Linked DNA regions of Homo sapiens: all the other regions are linked to region 1. The links are contacts of gene promoters, found by promoter capture Hi-C in human tissues and cell types (Jung and others, 2019). All regions are on one chromosome and are shown on one strand. Each heading gives the region's core, a stretch centred on a gene start or on the middle of the fragment in contact. The rest is flanking DNA. Distances are from core to core; before and after follow the strand shown. Region 1 holds the start of FSCN2 (fascin actin-bundling protein 2, retinal). Region 2 overlaps BAIAP2 (BAR/IMD domain containing adaptor protein 2). Region 3 holds the start of AATK (apoptosis associated tyrosine kinase). Region 4 overlaps SLC38A10 (solute carrier family 38 member 10).

The links. The method cuts DNA at HindIII sites, captures the fragments that hold promoters and counts their contacts. A contact is called where the count stands out against the background at its distance.
Region 2: a contact is called between a fragment that was not itself captured here and the fragment with the promoter of FSCN2 in region 1, in 1 of the 25 tissues and cell types used here (mesendoderm cells).
Region 3: the fragment with the promoter of AATK here is called in contact with the fragment with the promoter of FSCN2 in region 1 in 4 of the 25 tissues and cell types used here (bladder, dorsolateral prefrontal cortex, lymphoblastoid cells and 1 more).
Region 4: a fragment that was not itself captured here is called in contact with the fragment with the promoter of FSCN2 in region 1 in 3 of the 25 tissues and cell types used here (dorsolateral prefrontal cortex, mesenchymal stem cells and mesendoderm cells).

The regions. Positions count from the first base shown.
Region 1 is chr17:81,526,692-81,530,402 of GRCh38, forward strand. FSCN2 (fascin actin-bundling protein 2, retinal) reads left to right here and starts at 1,686. Exons shown (of 5, transcript NM_012418.4): 1 at 1,686-2,666. The coding sequence starts at 1,841. RefSeq lists enhancers at 1,608-2,134, 2,135-2,660. The HindIII fragment of the contact is 15,570 bases long and covers 1-3,711 here.
Region 2 is chr17:81,086,432-81,090,142 of GRCh38, forward strand. BAIAP2 (BAR/IMD domain containing adaptor protein 2) reads left to right here. Exons shown (of 14, transcript NM_001144888.2): 6 at 12-149. Among named protein-coding and RNA genes, the nearest start is that of MIR657, 37 kb to the right of the region's middle. RefSeq lists an enhancer at 3,300-3,711. The HindIII fragment of the contact is 9,149 bases long and covers 1-3,711 here.
Region 3 is chr17:81,164,250-81,167,960 of GRCh38, forward strand. It overlaps AATK (apoptosis associated tyrosine kinase), which reads right to left and starts at 1,972. Exons shown (of 14, transcript NM_001080395.3): 1 at 1,689-1,972. The coding sequence starts at 1,743. It overlaps PVALEF (parvalbumin like EF-hand containing), which reads left to right and starts at 1,258. Exons shown (of 7, transcript NM_001354639.2): 1 at 1,258-1,498; 2 at 2,428-2,595. RefSeq lists enhancers at 26-769, 770-1,513. The HindIII fragment of the contact is 13,495 bases long and covers 1-3,711 here.
Region 4 is chr17:81,268,168-81,271,878 of GRCh38, forward strand. SLC38A10 (solute carrier family 38 member 10) reads right to left here. Exons shown (of 16, transcript NM_001037984.3): 10 at 2,751-2,857. Among named protein-coding and RNA genes, the nearest start is that of SLC38A10, 25 kb to the right of the region's middle. The HindIII fragment of the contact is 5,517 bases long and covers 1-3,711 here.

The DNA.
Region 1 (3,711 bases), core at 436-2,935:
CCTAAACCAGAGACAGTTCCCTGGCATCGGTGCTAGGCCTGTGTCCTCAGTCCCCTGGAAACTGTGGGAGAGTGTGTGTGGGCATCGTCTCTGGGAAGGGGGTGAAACCCCAGACTGCGTCTCCCCAGGATGGTGCCTGGCACGTGACCTGGTTTCGCACACAGTTGGTGCCTCATAAATGCGTGTGAATCATAGAGGCGGATGAGGCCAGCACACAGGGAGAGGCGAGAGCAGGCCCTGGCGTCGTGGCGTACGCTGTGCCCTGGGGGGTATTTGCATGTGGGAGTCTCTCTGCCCCCACCCTGGCCCCTGAGCGTGGGGACAGTGGGGACAGGTCTCCTCTTTTTCCTCCCCTGTGTCTGCAGGTGCCTGGCACGGTTGCTGTCCAGGGCTTAGAGGACAGAGGAAGAGCCCCTGAGTCTGTGCACACTCTGCCACCATGGCCCTGCCCACCTCTGGAGCCCACAGGTGCCCAGCCCAGGCCCCTTGCTTTTGGCTAGACTCCTGCCCTACGGGGACCCCCATGATGGCCACTCAGGAGATGGGCCCAGGAGGACAGGGGAGTGACTCCAGGCCATGACCGGAAGGGGCCTGTGGCCCCTGTTCCCAGTCCCCAGGGAGACGGGAGGGTCACACGCTGTTATGAGGAAGAGGACACCGGGCTGGCCCTGGCCCAGGGTGGCCAGCTCTGGTTTCACTACTTGGCCCCAAGCCCCTGAGGCAGGTGCAGGAGCCAGGCACGGTGAGCAGGGCCCAGTGCCCCTCAGGCTCTGGGGAAGGGGTACAGCCAGGTGGCCCAGAGCAAGGAGGTGCTGTAGACAGGTGTGACCACTTCCAGTCTCTCCCGGCCTGCTGGCCTTCATCCTCTCCCAGATTCCAAGGGCCACCGCTGGGAGCATGGGGTGGACATCGTCCCACCAGCCTCCTGGATCCACATCCGTAAAGACTCCAAAGTGAAGTGAGGCTGGCTTCACTCCAGCTCACAGCAGAGGAGGGGGCAGCCTCAGGGCCCAGCAACTTGCTCAGAGCGCACAGGAGTGCGCTGGGGCCGGGCCAGCCTGGCCCAGGGCCTCTGACTCTGCCCCCTGCCTGCAGGGCTGCACGGCCACTGTGTTCCACCCTCCAGCGTGGGTGGCAGTCCAGTGCGTCATTCTGGGGCCTGAGCAGTGTGGCCAGAGGCCGGTCTGGGGTGGAGGCGACCTGGGCTGCAGGTTGTGGCTGGGGTCCTTGCTATGCTTCTGGCAGCAGGAATCAGAGAAGCAGTAACTGGATCCAGCTGAGGGCCTGGCGGCCACCGAGGGTACGGGCGGCGATCAGGTTGCGGCCGAGCCGTGAGCGTTCCACTGGACGGCTTCTACATCCGGAAGGGCTGGGCCGGGCCGGGCCGGGAGCCCACACGGGGTTGGAGGAGGGGGGCAGGAACGAGAGAGGCCAAAAGGTGCAGGGCCGTGAAGAGGGGCGCTGGGCCCACGCTATGAGGAAAAGGGGATCAACCCTGCCCTCCAGCCCCGTAGGCCCTCAGGCCCTCGGGCTCTGGGCTCTGTGCAATCCGGGAGTGGCTGAAATCCAAGCTGAGGGTAATGAAAGGTGCTGCTCCTAAGCCGCACGTCTCTGATCCGCCCTCCCCGCCCGCCCTCTGCTGCCCGCGGGCCCTCTAAGAGCTGCCCAGGCTGCTGCCGCGGGTCAGAGGCGGGTCAGAGCAGGCAGGGGGTTCGTGACGCCGGCTGGGTCTGGGGGCTGTGGGCCAGCCGAGCCGACCCGGGCTTCTGGGGGACCGCGGGGGCCGTGAGCACTCAGAGGGCGCATCCCAGGCCCCTCCGGGGACCCGGCCAGCCTGAAGATGCCGACGAACGGCCTGCACCAGGTGCTGAAGATCCAGTTTGGCCTCGTCAACGACACTGACCGCTACCTGACAGCTGAGAGCTTCGGCTTCAAGGTCAATGCCTCGGCACCCAGCCTCAAGAGGAAGCAGACCTGGGTGCTGGAACCCGACCCAGGACAAGGCACGGCTGTGCTGCTCCGCAGCAGCCACCTGGGCCGCTACCTGTCGGCAGAAGAGGACGGGCGCGTGGCCTGTGAGGCAGAGCAGCCGGGCCGTGACTGCCGCTTCCTGGTCCTGCCGCAGCCAGATGGGCGCTGGGTGCTGCGGTCCGAGCCGCACGGCCGCTTCTTCGGAGGCACCGAGGACCAGCTGTCCTGCTTCGCCACAGCCGTTTCCCCGGCCGAGCTGTGGACCGTGCACCTGGCCATCCACCCGCAGGCCCACCTGCTGAGCGTGAGCCGGCGGCGCTACGTGCACCTGTGCCCGCGGGAGGACGAGATGGCCGCAGACGGAGACAAGCCCTGGGGCGTGGACGCCCTCCTCACCCTCATCTTCCGGAGCCGACGGTACTGCCTCAAGTCCTGTGACAGCCGCTACCTGCGCAGCGACGGCCGTCTGGTCTGGGAGCCTGAGCCCCGTGCCTGCTACACGCTGGAGTTCAAGGCGGGCAAGCTGGCCTTCAAGGACTGCGACGGCCACTACCTGGCACCCGTGGGGCCCGCAGGCACCCTCAAGGCCGGCCGAAACACGCGACCTGGCAAGGATGAGCTCTTTGATCTGGAGGAGAGTCACCCACAGGTGGTGCTGGTGGCTGCCAACCACCGCTACGTCTCTGTGCGGCAAGGTAGGGAGGGCACAGGTGGCGACCTCCTGAGGGGTGCTGGGACCCCCCTGCTTCAGGGAGGAGGCCGTGGGGGTCTCACGGGGAGTGGTATCGTGTCTGTGCGTTCACATGTCTGTTCTGGGCTGGGGGTCCATGTGGGACATGTGTGGCCACTCAGGGTGTAGGTGGGTGGGCCTCGGGCCATGCCCAGGCGACCCCCACTGAGGGGTGGTGGCTTCAGGGTCAGAGGCAAGGGTTCCTGGCCTTTCTCAGCATAGCTGGAGAATGTCTCAGCCAAGCCCTGGGCAGCTGCGGAGTCTGAGACTGGAGAGGTGTGGGCCAGGCGATGGGCAGTGCCCAGCAGGGGCAGGAGGCCCACAGCCTGGCCTGGTGCCATGAGGGGCATGTGGGCAGGAGGCTGTGGGGGGTCCATATCTCCCCTTCTTTTTCTCCACCCCATTTTCTGGACTTCATTTATTTATTTATTTTTTGAGACAGAGTCTCGCTCTGTCACCCAGGCTGGAGCGCAGTGGCGTGATCTCGGCTCACTGCAAGCGCCGCCTCACGGGTTCACGCCATTCTCCTGCCTCAGCCTCCCGAGTAGCTGGGACTACAGGCGCCCGCCACCACGCCCGGCTAATTTTTTGTATTTTTTAGAAGAGACGGGGTTTCACTGTGTTAGCCAGGATGGTCTTGATCTCCTGACCTTGTGATCTGTCCACCTCGGCCTCCCAAAGTGCTGGGATTACAGGCGTGAGCCACCGTGCCCGGCTGCATTTTCTGGACTTTAAAGGAAATTGGGGAGGAGCCCAGGGTAGGGCAGGGAGCTGGGGATCGGGCGGGGATAGCACCACCACGTGCCTGACCAGTGGAGCCTCGTGTCCTCAGGAGTGGGGGGGCTTAAGGTCAGCTCCAGTGATGGAGGACACGGTGGGCAGGCAGCTTTACCCGGGGCCTGGGCTCCTGGTGGGGAGGCACCTCCCTGCCCCAGTGGGGCGTGGCCTGGCTCTCCCCAGTTCCCAGGTCACCAGTTGCCTGTCTGTGTGACTCCCTCCACCGCCTATGG
Region 2 (3,711 bases), core at 836-3,335, 440 kb before region 1:
TTGAATCTCAGGCTGCGCTGAAGAAATACCAGACTGAGCAAAGGAGCAAAGGCGACGCCCTGGACAAGTGTCAGGCTGAGCTGAAGAAGCTTCGGAAGAAGAGCCAGGGCAGCAAGAATCCTCAGAAGTACTCGGACAAGGAGCTGCAGGTAGGCCCGCCACCCCCGCTGTGGTGCCTCTCCTGCCACCTTGGGACTGCTCACCCCTCGGCCCCCCTCGTCCACAGGGAGTGGACAGCAGCCCCCCAGGTGCGATCAGACAGAGGCAGGCTGTGTGTCCCTGGTAGACCTCGGGAGCGGTGGGCCTGACGCCCCCAGGCCGGTGGGATGGTCGGCTCACCTGTGGGGCTCTGTCCTGCTCTTGCAGCCTCCCAGGGTCACTGAAAGGTTCTTGGCTGAAGGAGCAGAAACCTAAATGGAGTCCTCCCCTCTGTTCTCCCCATCCCTGCCCGGGAGTCCGGTCCCAGTTTGTTCCTCTAAGCGGTCGTGGCCTCCGCCTGCAGGGCTGGCCACTCGAGGGAAGGTGGTACTTCAGGTTCCTCGAGGGAGCGGCTTCGGTGTTGTTTCTCTCACCGTCCCGCCGGCGTCACCGGTGCTGCGTGCTGAGTGGGCTGGGACGTAGGAAGGCCTGGCCGATGACAGGCACGGCCTGATGTGTGTACACCAGAACCTGGATGGTGGCTGACACAGGCCAGACCCAGAAACCCCTCGCCCACTTGCTGGGGTCATAGTGATACAGAAGAGAAAGAAACACAAAACAAGATGCCCAGTCGTGTGTAAAGGAAACATCAGGAAAACCCCTGGCCAGTCACCCAGGTAGAAGCTTCTGGGCTGCACCCTGGGGTGGGCAAGGTGTGGCTGTGGGTGAAGCCCGGGCCTCCAGGCCGCACCCTTCCTGCTGGCAGTCAGGTTTTCAAGCCTTGGCAAGCCCCGCACACACCTGCCCGTGTGCGTGTGTCTGCGTGTGTGTGTGCGACCGTCTCCTTGGTGCCGGATGTGGGTGCTCATGAGTGGCTGTGGCCTCGCCCTGGGACTGGGAGGCCGGTTCCTGCTCAGAGCCTGTGCCCCCGCTCCCTGCTTAACTGCAGGGAAGCCAAGCAGGTCTGCCCACACCCTGCAGACCAAGCCAGAAGATTTCCAGTGTGGGGTCGCCTGGTGGAGCTGGATCGGCCCCAAAGGAGAGGACGGGACTAGGCCAGGGGCAGATGAGAAGGATAAGTGAGAGTCTGTGGAAACAGCCATACGGGGGAGCTGGGGGTCCCTCGGGTGCCCGCTGCTGTTTGCAGCCTCCCACTCAGGCATGCTTGGTGCACAGTTGCAGGGACGCAACTCAGGCCGTTCTCTAGGGTGCCCTGCCCTCTCCAGCCACCTCTTCCCGTGTCCCCAGCCTTTGTTTTGATCCTGTTTTTCACTCCAGGTAAGCTGTGATGGGTCTTTTGATCCTTTCCGTTTTGCACTCCGGGTAAGCTGCCATCATGGGTCTTTCTATGATGGGCCCATCATGGTGGCCTTAGTATTCCTGCCTGAGGCTGCTGCAGCGAGCCGTCCTCAAGCTGTTTCTGTGAACAGAACCTGAGCAGTGGGCATGGGGAGTTGAGGAGGAGAAATAGGTATATGTTGGTAGACACTGTGTCTGTTTTTCTTCTTCCTCCCACCGTGGAACGTTTTGCTACTTTGCTTTCTGAAGACAAGCAGCGGACGGCACCCCTGCGGCCTGGAGGGCCATAGCCGCCTCCGAGCAGGTCAGGACAGTGCAGGTGTGAGCCAGCCCTGAGCACCGAGGCCAGGTGTGAGAGCTTGTCTTAAGGGGGACTTTCCTGGGAATGTCCCCAGCTTGGTGTTCTGGGGATGGGGATACTGAGGCCAGTTCACTGAGGGCTCAGCTGCCTGCTGGGGGTCCAGGAGCTTGAGCTCCCTTCTGCCCTCGAGGCTCTGTGGGTTTTTGCTAACAGCGTTTTTGAGATATAATTCACATCACCAGCAGTTCACCATTTCACGGGCACAGTCCAGTGGTTATGAGTGTTTGCAGCTGTGTGTCCATCACTCAGTCCGTTTTAGAGCATTTTTCAATCAGCAGTCACTCCTGGGCCCCTGGCCCCACCAGTCACCAGCCTGCCATTGGCCTCCGTAGACTTGCCTGTTATGGACATTCTGCGTAGCTGGAATCCCACAGTGTCCGGCCTTTGGTGCCTGGTGGCTCACGTGGCACGGAGGGTTCTTAAAGCTCATCGTGCCGTAGCCTGCGCCAGCCTCCTCCCCTCTTACTGTCGGGGGTCAGCCTTTCTTCCTTTTCATGGCTAAATCGTGTTCCATCGTGTGGGTACCGGAGGCTCCATCCTGCTCAGGGCCAGGGCCGTCTCCCTGGCACGGCCGGTACTGCCCTGTGGCTGAGCTCGCTGGGAGCTGGAGATCGCGGCGGGGTAGCATAGGGCCGGACAAAGGCAGAGGCTGGGGGCTGTCGGAGCCACTCCCCCTCCCTCCTGCAGGCTGGAGCCAGAGGCCTGAGGCCCCCACGCAGTCACTGTGGCCCTGCCGCACCAGCTCCCTGGTTTTCAGGTGCCCTGCCTCCCACTGCCAGGCCTCTTCAGGAGGGCCCTGACCGCACACCTGGCCTCTGCCTGCCCTCCGCGCTGCTCTGCCGTGGGCCCCGGGTGGTGGGATTTACTCCCGAGGCTGTGTGTGCACAGCTAGCTCCTCAAGCCCATCCCACACAGGGGTTTTGGAAGACCTTCTCCTTGCTGATGGCTGGTCTGTCTGTTTGCTGCATGTCCTGGCACTTTTGAGGTCTGTTGGGGGACCATGTTGGTGCCTCAGGGGCCCTGGAGGCAGGTCCCATCTGTTCTTCTCATGGGGGCTGTGAGCCACCTCCAGTGCCTCGGTGGACCCTTCGTTGACTGGCCCAAGGGTCACCTGATTCGCAGCCACAGGGGGCTGGACCTGGCGGTGACTCGAGGGGCCTTGGCCCTGCCTCAGTGCTGTGGTCCACGGTCTGGGCAAGGGGCCGCTGCTGGGTGCCCCAGGGGCTGACTGAACCATTTGGCAACAGAACTAAGGTGGCTGGTGGCTGGGCCCGTCCTGGGGCCCCTTGAGTGCCCTTTCGTGGTAAGCCAGGTGACCCAGTTTTGGGAGTAAGCCACAGCACCTGTTTCCCAACGGCTGCCACAGTCGTCACAAAGCCCCCCTCGTCCGCAGGAGGGCAGGCGGAGGGGGAGAGGGAGGGGGTCGTGGCCTTACAGGCTGTCTGCGTCCTGATGGGCCAGACCCCGGAGCCCGGCAGGGTCAGGAATGAGGGCAGCATTCCCATCTGTGGCTGCTAGTTGCCGAGGCAAATGGTCCCCCTAGCACCTGTGAGTGGGTCTGGGCGGGGACCATGTGGGCGGAGAGGGCAGGCAGGGCCCCGAAGCGCATGGTAGGTGGAGGTTGCAGTGGGTGTGAGGTGAGGGTGGCCCAGCAGCCCCCTTGGAAAGGCCTCTGCCACCCGGTACAGAGACGCTTGGCGAGCCTCATCTTCTCGGCCTCCCAGGGCCCCTCCTGGGAGATGTGTGGTGCTGGTCTTTCTTCCCAGGTCCCAGGGGCCCTGCTGTGGCTCCCCAGCCCTGGCTGAGCAGCCTCCTTTCTCTAGAACTTGCAGCTGCTCCTCCCCACTCACCAGGGGACCTGTGGGTGGCCCCAGGCTGGACTGTCCCCACCTGGGCACAGCCTCAAGGCCCTG
Region 3 (3,711 bases), core at 722-3,221, 360 kb before region 1:
CTAAGTTTAGCGGGAGGGCAGGAGACCCCTCTCTCCTCCCTAACCCTCTCATGGGGGCTGGTGCAGAGCCTAGACCCAGCCCCTTAATCCGAAGGAGGGTCTCCTTCCTCACCAGCACCAGCACCTTGGGCAGCCCCTCCTGGTAGGTGGGCCCCAGAGCCCAGCAGGTGCCTGCAGCTCTGGCCCAGCATCTTGCAGAGGAGAGACGCCCCTTGCCTCCAACAACTTCTTTTCCTCTAAGTCATTAAACGGACACATTAGAATTATTCAGATCACAGCTGTTTACCCAGAGAAGGGCAGAGCCGGTGCTGCTCGAAGGCGGGGGAAAGGGCCTCTCATGGCCAAGGACAAGGCTGGGCCCCGAGGCAGGGTATGGGCCGAGGGTCCTCTCTGTTCTGGGGGCAGAAAGGACCAAGCACCGTGGGCCACGCCTGGCATGGAGATGTGATGAGGACCTGCCCCAAGCCTCCTCCACCCCCTGCCCTTGGGCCGGGGAGACATTACAGCTGTTGCCGTGGCTGTTGGGCTCTGAGCCTTCACCTGCCCACCCCACAGGGACTTCCGAGCCCCAGGGGTCACTACAGGAAGTCATTTCTGAGCAAGTGACACCCACAGCCCTAAGCCCAGCAGACAGACCTCCCACCAGCTCCCTTCCTCCAGGGAGCAAATGCCTTCAGACCGAGATCTGCCCCGGGGACCCCCGTGCCTCCCTGCCAGGCTGCGTGCACTGGGCCCTGCTCCAGGGAAGGAGACACAGGAGATCACGTCACATGCAAACAGGCTTTGTTTGGGCTGGCTCAGCCTGGTGCCAGAGCCCCAGTGACGTGTGGGTGGGACTTGGCCCTGGGGCCATGGATGGCACAGGGCAGGGGGATTATCTCCCACTCAGGCCAAGCAGGGGCCGGATCTGGAGAAGCAGAGGTTTTAGAAAGCCCACTGCTTCCTGGTGACAGATGGGGCTTCCAGCTGTCCCCAGCCCCCTCTGCCTATCCCAGCTGTCCACCACAGCCAGGAGGCCAGGCAGCCATGGGTAATCTCGCCCTGCCCGGTGCACTGGCCATACGGGGTAAGAGGCCTGGCCTCAGGTCCCCTGCAGCCAGCTTGACAGCGTCACCTCGGGCCCCCACTGTCAGGGGATCTGGGCACCCACCAAGGCCCCTCTCTTCTGAGCCTCTGCCCACTGGGCTCTGTAATGTGGACTGGCCCCTGCTCCCCCCACATCCCCCGCCGGCTGCTGGTGGCTGGGCAGGGCTCTGAGAATCGCTCCCAGCCTGGGAAGAAGCCTCCCACGCCAGGGCCCCGGACCCAGGAGAGGCCATGGAAAGCCTGAACCCCAGCTGGCTGACACCCCCCACACCCCCAAGGGCCCTTAGTCTGAGACCAACTCTCCTGGACACCAGGGGCCCACGCAGGCCCTCCGTGCCCCAGTTACCTGTGCCCTGGAGGCAGCCACGGAGTCACGACCACGCGGGGGACGCCAGCCCACAGGCGGAGGCCGGTTTGTGCTGGGGCCCAGGGCCTGCCCCTCCGAGATCTGGGGCCGCCAGGGGGTCCGGCTGCTTCTGCTGCTGGGCTCGGGGCGGGGAAAGGGTTAATTTCCATGCAAACCGGGAGCCGTGGGGCCCAGGGGCATCACGTCCGCAGCGGAGGGAGGCAGCGGCGCGCAGGCCGGGCCGCCAGGGACTCACCGGGGTCGAAGTGCGAGCTGAAGGCGAAGCTGGGGTTGAAGAAGGACGACGACATGGCCGGGCCAGCGGCCGGCGGGCATCCCGGGAGGGCGCTGCGCTCAGGACGCCCGCGGCCCCGGCCCGAGCCGCCGCATCACCCAGCGGCCGCCGCAGGTGCGGAGCGCGCCGGCCCCCGCGCCCCGCGCCCCCCGCCGCAGCCGCAGAGCCCGCACCGGTGGGGGCGGCGGCGACAGACGAGGCGCTCCGCCCGGCCCTGGCGCCGCGGGGCTCCGCTGGTGCAGTCCGAAAACGCGGGCGGGAGCGCGCGCGGAGCGGCGCGGGGGAGGGGGGGGCCCTCCGCGGCCGGGGTGGCATGGGGGGAGCACGGAGAGGGGGACACGGAGGGGGAGACAGAGGGGAGCACGGAGTGGGGGACACAGAAGGGGGCTTGGAGGGGGGACACGGAGGGGAGGCATGGAGGAGGGGGGACGGGGGGCCGTGCACGGAGCGGGGATGGCACGGAGTGGGGGGATGGTCCGGAGCGGGAAGCACGGCGGCCTGGGGCTGAGGGGGGCACGGAGGCTGGCGGGGGGGGGGGAAACGGAAGTCGTGAATGGTAAGTCGTGAGTGGGTACGGAGGGAACGCCGGGGTGGGGGAGGGGGTACTCCTAGGTGGAAAGGTTCAGGGAGACAGGTGGGGGAACCCGGGAGCACACCCAGGGCGGGTCTTGGTGCTCAGGGGCCCTCGCCTCACTTGCAGGTTTCGAGGCGGCTGGCAGCCGCCCCCCCACCCCATGCCCTTTGGGTGGCACCTGTGCTGGTGGAGTGGGGGTGGCTGGCTTTGCACACAGGCCTGCTCCTGTACCGTGCTGCGACAGCCATGAAGGAAGAACCTGGCTGAGTCTCCACCTGCCGTGGACTGTACCAGGTGCTTAGGGCAGCAGGTTGGCCTGGGCGCTGAGGGGCCATCCCTTCCCCTATGTTTCTCCCAGGATCCCCCATCCCCGCCCAAAGTGCCACCTTGCAGGGTTGGGGCGGGGCAGGGTCCCCCCAGCCTGCCCCCGTGGGAGTCGGGAGAGTTAAAGTTCAGTGGAAGCTGGTCCCAGTGGCTCATGCCTGTAATCCCAGCACTTTGGGAGGCCAGGGCAGGCGGGTGGCTTGTGCTCAGGGGTTCCAGACCAGCCTGGGCAACATAGCAAGACACTTTCTCTACAAAAATTAGAAAAATGAGCCAGGCATGGTGGCGCTCACCTGTAGTCTCAGCTACTTGGGAGGCTGAGGTGGGAGGATCACTTGAGCCTGGGAGTTAGAGGCCGCAGTGAGCCAAGATGGCACCACTGCACTCCAGCCCGGGTGACAACAAGATCTTGTCTCAAAAAAAGTGTCCTGGAGACTTGCAGTTGAGTTTGATGCACCCTCATCCACTCATTCATTCACTCACTCATTCATTCACTCACTCATTCATTCACTCACTCATTCTGGGACCAGATGGCTAAGCCCCTTGGCAAGGCCCAGTTGGGGTTGGGGGCTGTGGAGCAGGTGAGAGGCGCCCACTCCAACAGGGCTCTTAGGACTTTAGGGAGAGAAAGGAGCCTGTTCCCGGCAGAGGGACCTGCAGAGACCAGGACAGGATGCTTGGGCCACGGGGCAGATGGGCACCAGGACCCACCCTTCTTTTCCTAAGGGGGTCCCTCATGTAGGAAGTTTCCTCCTAACAGGCAAAGCAAGGGGCCTCCACCCTGTGCCCTCAGACCTTAGGGGTCCCTGGCTGTAGGAGACAAGACACCAACTGCACCTGGGGCAGAAGGAGACAGGGCACCCAGAGCCTTCTTCCTGGCCCTGATCATGTGGCCAGCCAAGGTTCTAAGGGGCGCTGCCGCCAGGCTGCCGTTGCAGGTAAAGAAGCCGCGTGGGTAGAGTGGCTGAAGGGGGCCTTGCCCGCAGGAGGCACTCAGAGGCCTTGGGCCACCTCGTTCAGTCTGTGTCTTCAGGGAGCCCAGAGGGCTGGGAGGATCAGTGCCCACCCAGTGGCAGGGATGGTTGG
Region 4 (3,711 bases), core at 734-3,233, 260 kb before region 1:
CAGAAGGGCTGTACCCTAGGAACAAGGCCAACTGAAAACACATTTGCCTCAATGGGACACAGGCCTTCTGCCTATCCCCTGTATGATGGATGAATGACAATGTCACCCAGAACTTCTACGATTTCTCAAACACAACATCTGCAAAATACCAGGCACACTAGAAAACAAGACCCCAGGACAAAAAAACAAGAAGCCACAAAGAATCAATATCAATACTTTTTTCTTTTTCTTCTTCTTTTTTTTCTTTTTTTTTTGAGACGGAGTCTTTTGCTCTGTTGCCCAGGCTGGAGTGCAGTGGTGCTATCTCGGCTCACTGCAACCTCCACCTCCCGGGTTCAAGTGATTCTCCTGCCTCAGCCTCCCAAAGTGCTGGGATTACAGGAGTGAGCCACCATGCCTGGCTCAATAATTACTATTTGAAACAACAATAACAATGTCTTGTGGAGTTTTAAATAAGGGTTGATATCAACTGCCTAGTATAATCATTAGAAGAATAGAAATGTACCAACAAGCCAAAAAAAGAGTAAATATTTAAAATGTTTGATTGATCCAAAGAAAGTAAAAGCAAAAACAGAAAAAGGACATATGAGACAAATAATAGGACATAAGTTGAAAGTTTTCCCTCAAAAATCAGTTATTATATTAACTGTAAATAGTCTTAAATACTCCCATTCACAGACTGAATAAGAACAAGACAAAAGTCAACTGCATGCTGTTATAAGAGACATACCATGAATATAATGGACTAGAGAAATCAAAAGAAAAGGGATGAAACAAGCTATCCTGTGCAAATACAAACCCAAAGCAGAACTAAGTTAGCTACAAAGCCAACTTTAAGGAGAAAAGTATTTCCAATGATAAAAAGGAGTATTTAACACGATAAAAGACAATTCAACAAGGAGATATAACCAACTTCAATCTGTCTGCTCCTAATAACATGGCTTCAAACTAAAAAGCAAAAAGTGATGGAACTAAAAGGAAAAATAAACAAATCTGCAGTTACAGTAGGAATTATCATACCTTTCTCACAACTCATAAACAAGATGATTAAAAAATCCATAAGGGGCTGGGTGTAGTGGCTCACGTCTATAATCCCAGCACTTTGGGAGGCTGAGGCGGGTGGATTATTTGAGGTCAGGATTTGAGACCAGCCTGACCAACATGGTAAAACCCTGTCTCTACTAAAAGTACAAAAATTAGCTGGGTGTGGTGGCACACACCTGGAATCCCAGCTACTCAGGAGGCTGAGGCAGGAGAATTGCTTGAACCCAGGAGGCAGAAGTTGCAGTGGACCTGAGCCAAGATGCTGAAGAAGTGGCTGACACACGTGGACGTGTATTCTAATGTACACTGTAAGAATCTATTTACCGCAACTTGAAGACAAGGCAAGATCATTCCAGAATGCCGGAGGACCTTTGGGGTGGGGGTGGATGTCAGTGAGGCATCCATAGGGAGCTCTGGGGTGCCGGGATGTCCTATGTCTGCTCTGGATGGTGGTTCCACGTGGTTCACTTTGTAAAAACTTATCAGGTTGAGGCCGGGCGCATTGGCTCACACCTGTAATCACAGCACTTTGGGAGGTGGAGGCGGGTGGATCACCTGAGGTCAAGAGTTCAAGACCAGCGTGACCAACACGGAGAAACCCCGTCTCACTAAAAATACAAAATTAGCCCGGCGTGGTGGCTACTCAGGAGGCTGAGGCAGGAGAATCACTTGAACCTGGGAGGCGGAGGTTGCAGTAAGCCGAGACTGCGCCACTGCACCCCAGCTTGGGCAACAAGAGTGAAACTCTGTCTCAAAAGAAAAAAAAAATTATCAATATATTCCAGTAAGAAAAAGCTCAACAACTCCATAAAAAGTGAGCAAAGAACACAAGCAGTTCACAGAAAAAGAAACGCAAGTGGCTTCTAAACCCATGAAAAGACACTCAAGTTCCCGCCAGAGAGGCCAAGAATGATGAAGCCTGGAAGGTCCTGGGTGCAGGGACAGAGGCCTTGAGCCTGGCTGGGAGTGACGCTGCAGGCACTTTGGGTAGAGCCACCACATTTACAGATGCTCACACCCCTGACACAGGATTCCATTTCTAGAAGGCTTCCTACAGACGCGTGCTCAAATACGTCGACATGCTCATGAACACAGATATTCATCGCGATTCTGTCTGCAATAGCAAGACTGGAGAGGTGAGTCCTTCGGAGACTGGGATTATGGAATCTTCCTACCACGGAACCCATGAAACGGCTAAAAATAGCGAGGCAGCTCTGTGCCCACGGCTGTGGAGCAACCTGACCTGCACAGGGTTTTGAGCAAAAGCAGCAGGAAGCTGTGTTACAGTTAAAGAAAAACCCACAAGCACGCACATCTCCGTGGGAGGGTCGCACCAGGAACAACGGTGGGTGGTGGCCTCAGGGGTGGGCGGCTGGGGAGGGGACTCAGAGGTGGCAGCAGGTCCATGGGCAATCAGGCATCGCAGAAACACCATGGGGAAAGCGCTTACGACTCAGCTAAGTCGGCTCTCAGGAAAACCCGATGCACAGCTTGAGCAGCTTAGTGTGGCCCTGCTGGGCAAAGACCGTGCGTCCTGGTGAACCCAGGGTTCCCCAGGCTGACTGGACCAAGTCCCTTTTGTGGGTTTTAAGTTTCTTGATAGAACCCATCTGAAAACGCTGAACCAGGGGCTTCCTCCCGCCTCCACCTCTCCCCAGCCCAGACCCATCAGCCCTCGTCCAGGCCACCCCACGAGCAGCACGCACCTGGGAGGAAAGTGCGTTCTTGTGGATTTTCTTGTAGATCAGCGCCGGGCAGATGAAGCAGATGAGGCTTCCCATGGTCGCTCCTGTGAGGCCCAGGATGGTCTCCACTAGGATGGAGAAGTGACAGGAAGGGATGAGTGGGGAAGGGCTCTGGGAAGGAGGGGACCTGAGCTTTTGCCCTGCACACGGGTGAGCAAGCCAGCATTGAAGGAAATGCCGTCTAGGCGTGAGCCGGGAGCAGAGACGCCCTCTGTGCCCAGAAAGCCTGACAACCGCGGCTGATTCCTCCAACAGTGCATTTAGGCCCCGGGGTGAATTCTCTGATGGTTCATCTTTAAAGAGTCAGACACTAGGGACCTCCTGCCGAAACCAGATGCTGGCTGCGCACGGCACGGCTCCTGCGCCGCCTCTCCTGCCTGCTGCTCCATGAGTGGCCCTAGGAAGGCAGGACCTATCCTAGGGCAGGTGTAGAGGCCAGGGCCTGGCGGGTGCTGCCAGGCTGCAGCCCCTGCCAGGAGCCCAGACAGATCGCCTCTAGGGCTGTTCCCTGGGGAGAGTGCGTGCGAGTTCCCCTGTGATGTCATCCTCTGATGACAACGAGCTCTGTCTTGTCTGCTAGGGAGTGGGTGCATTTGGGTAACATAAATATGTTCAGAGCCTTCAACGCTTCCCTTGGTAATGCATCACCAAAATCAGAAGTCAAAAGAATCAACAGGACAGCATGCGCTGTTCTAGAATAGTTGGTTCTACAAATTGAGCCTGTGTCCCGGCACTGCAGTCTCTCTCTGCCCAGGTGTCAATGGGTGCCTGCTGTTCCATCAAGCTGACAGATTTTTTTTTTTTTTTTTTTTTTGGCTGGAGTGTAGTGGAGCGATCTCAGCTCACTGCAAGCTTCGCCTCCCAGGTTCACGCCATTCTCCTGCCTCAGCCTCCCAAGTAGCTGGGACTACAGGCACCCGCC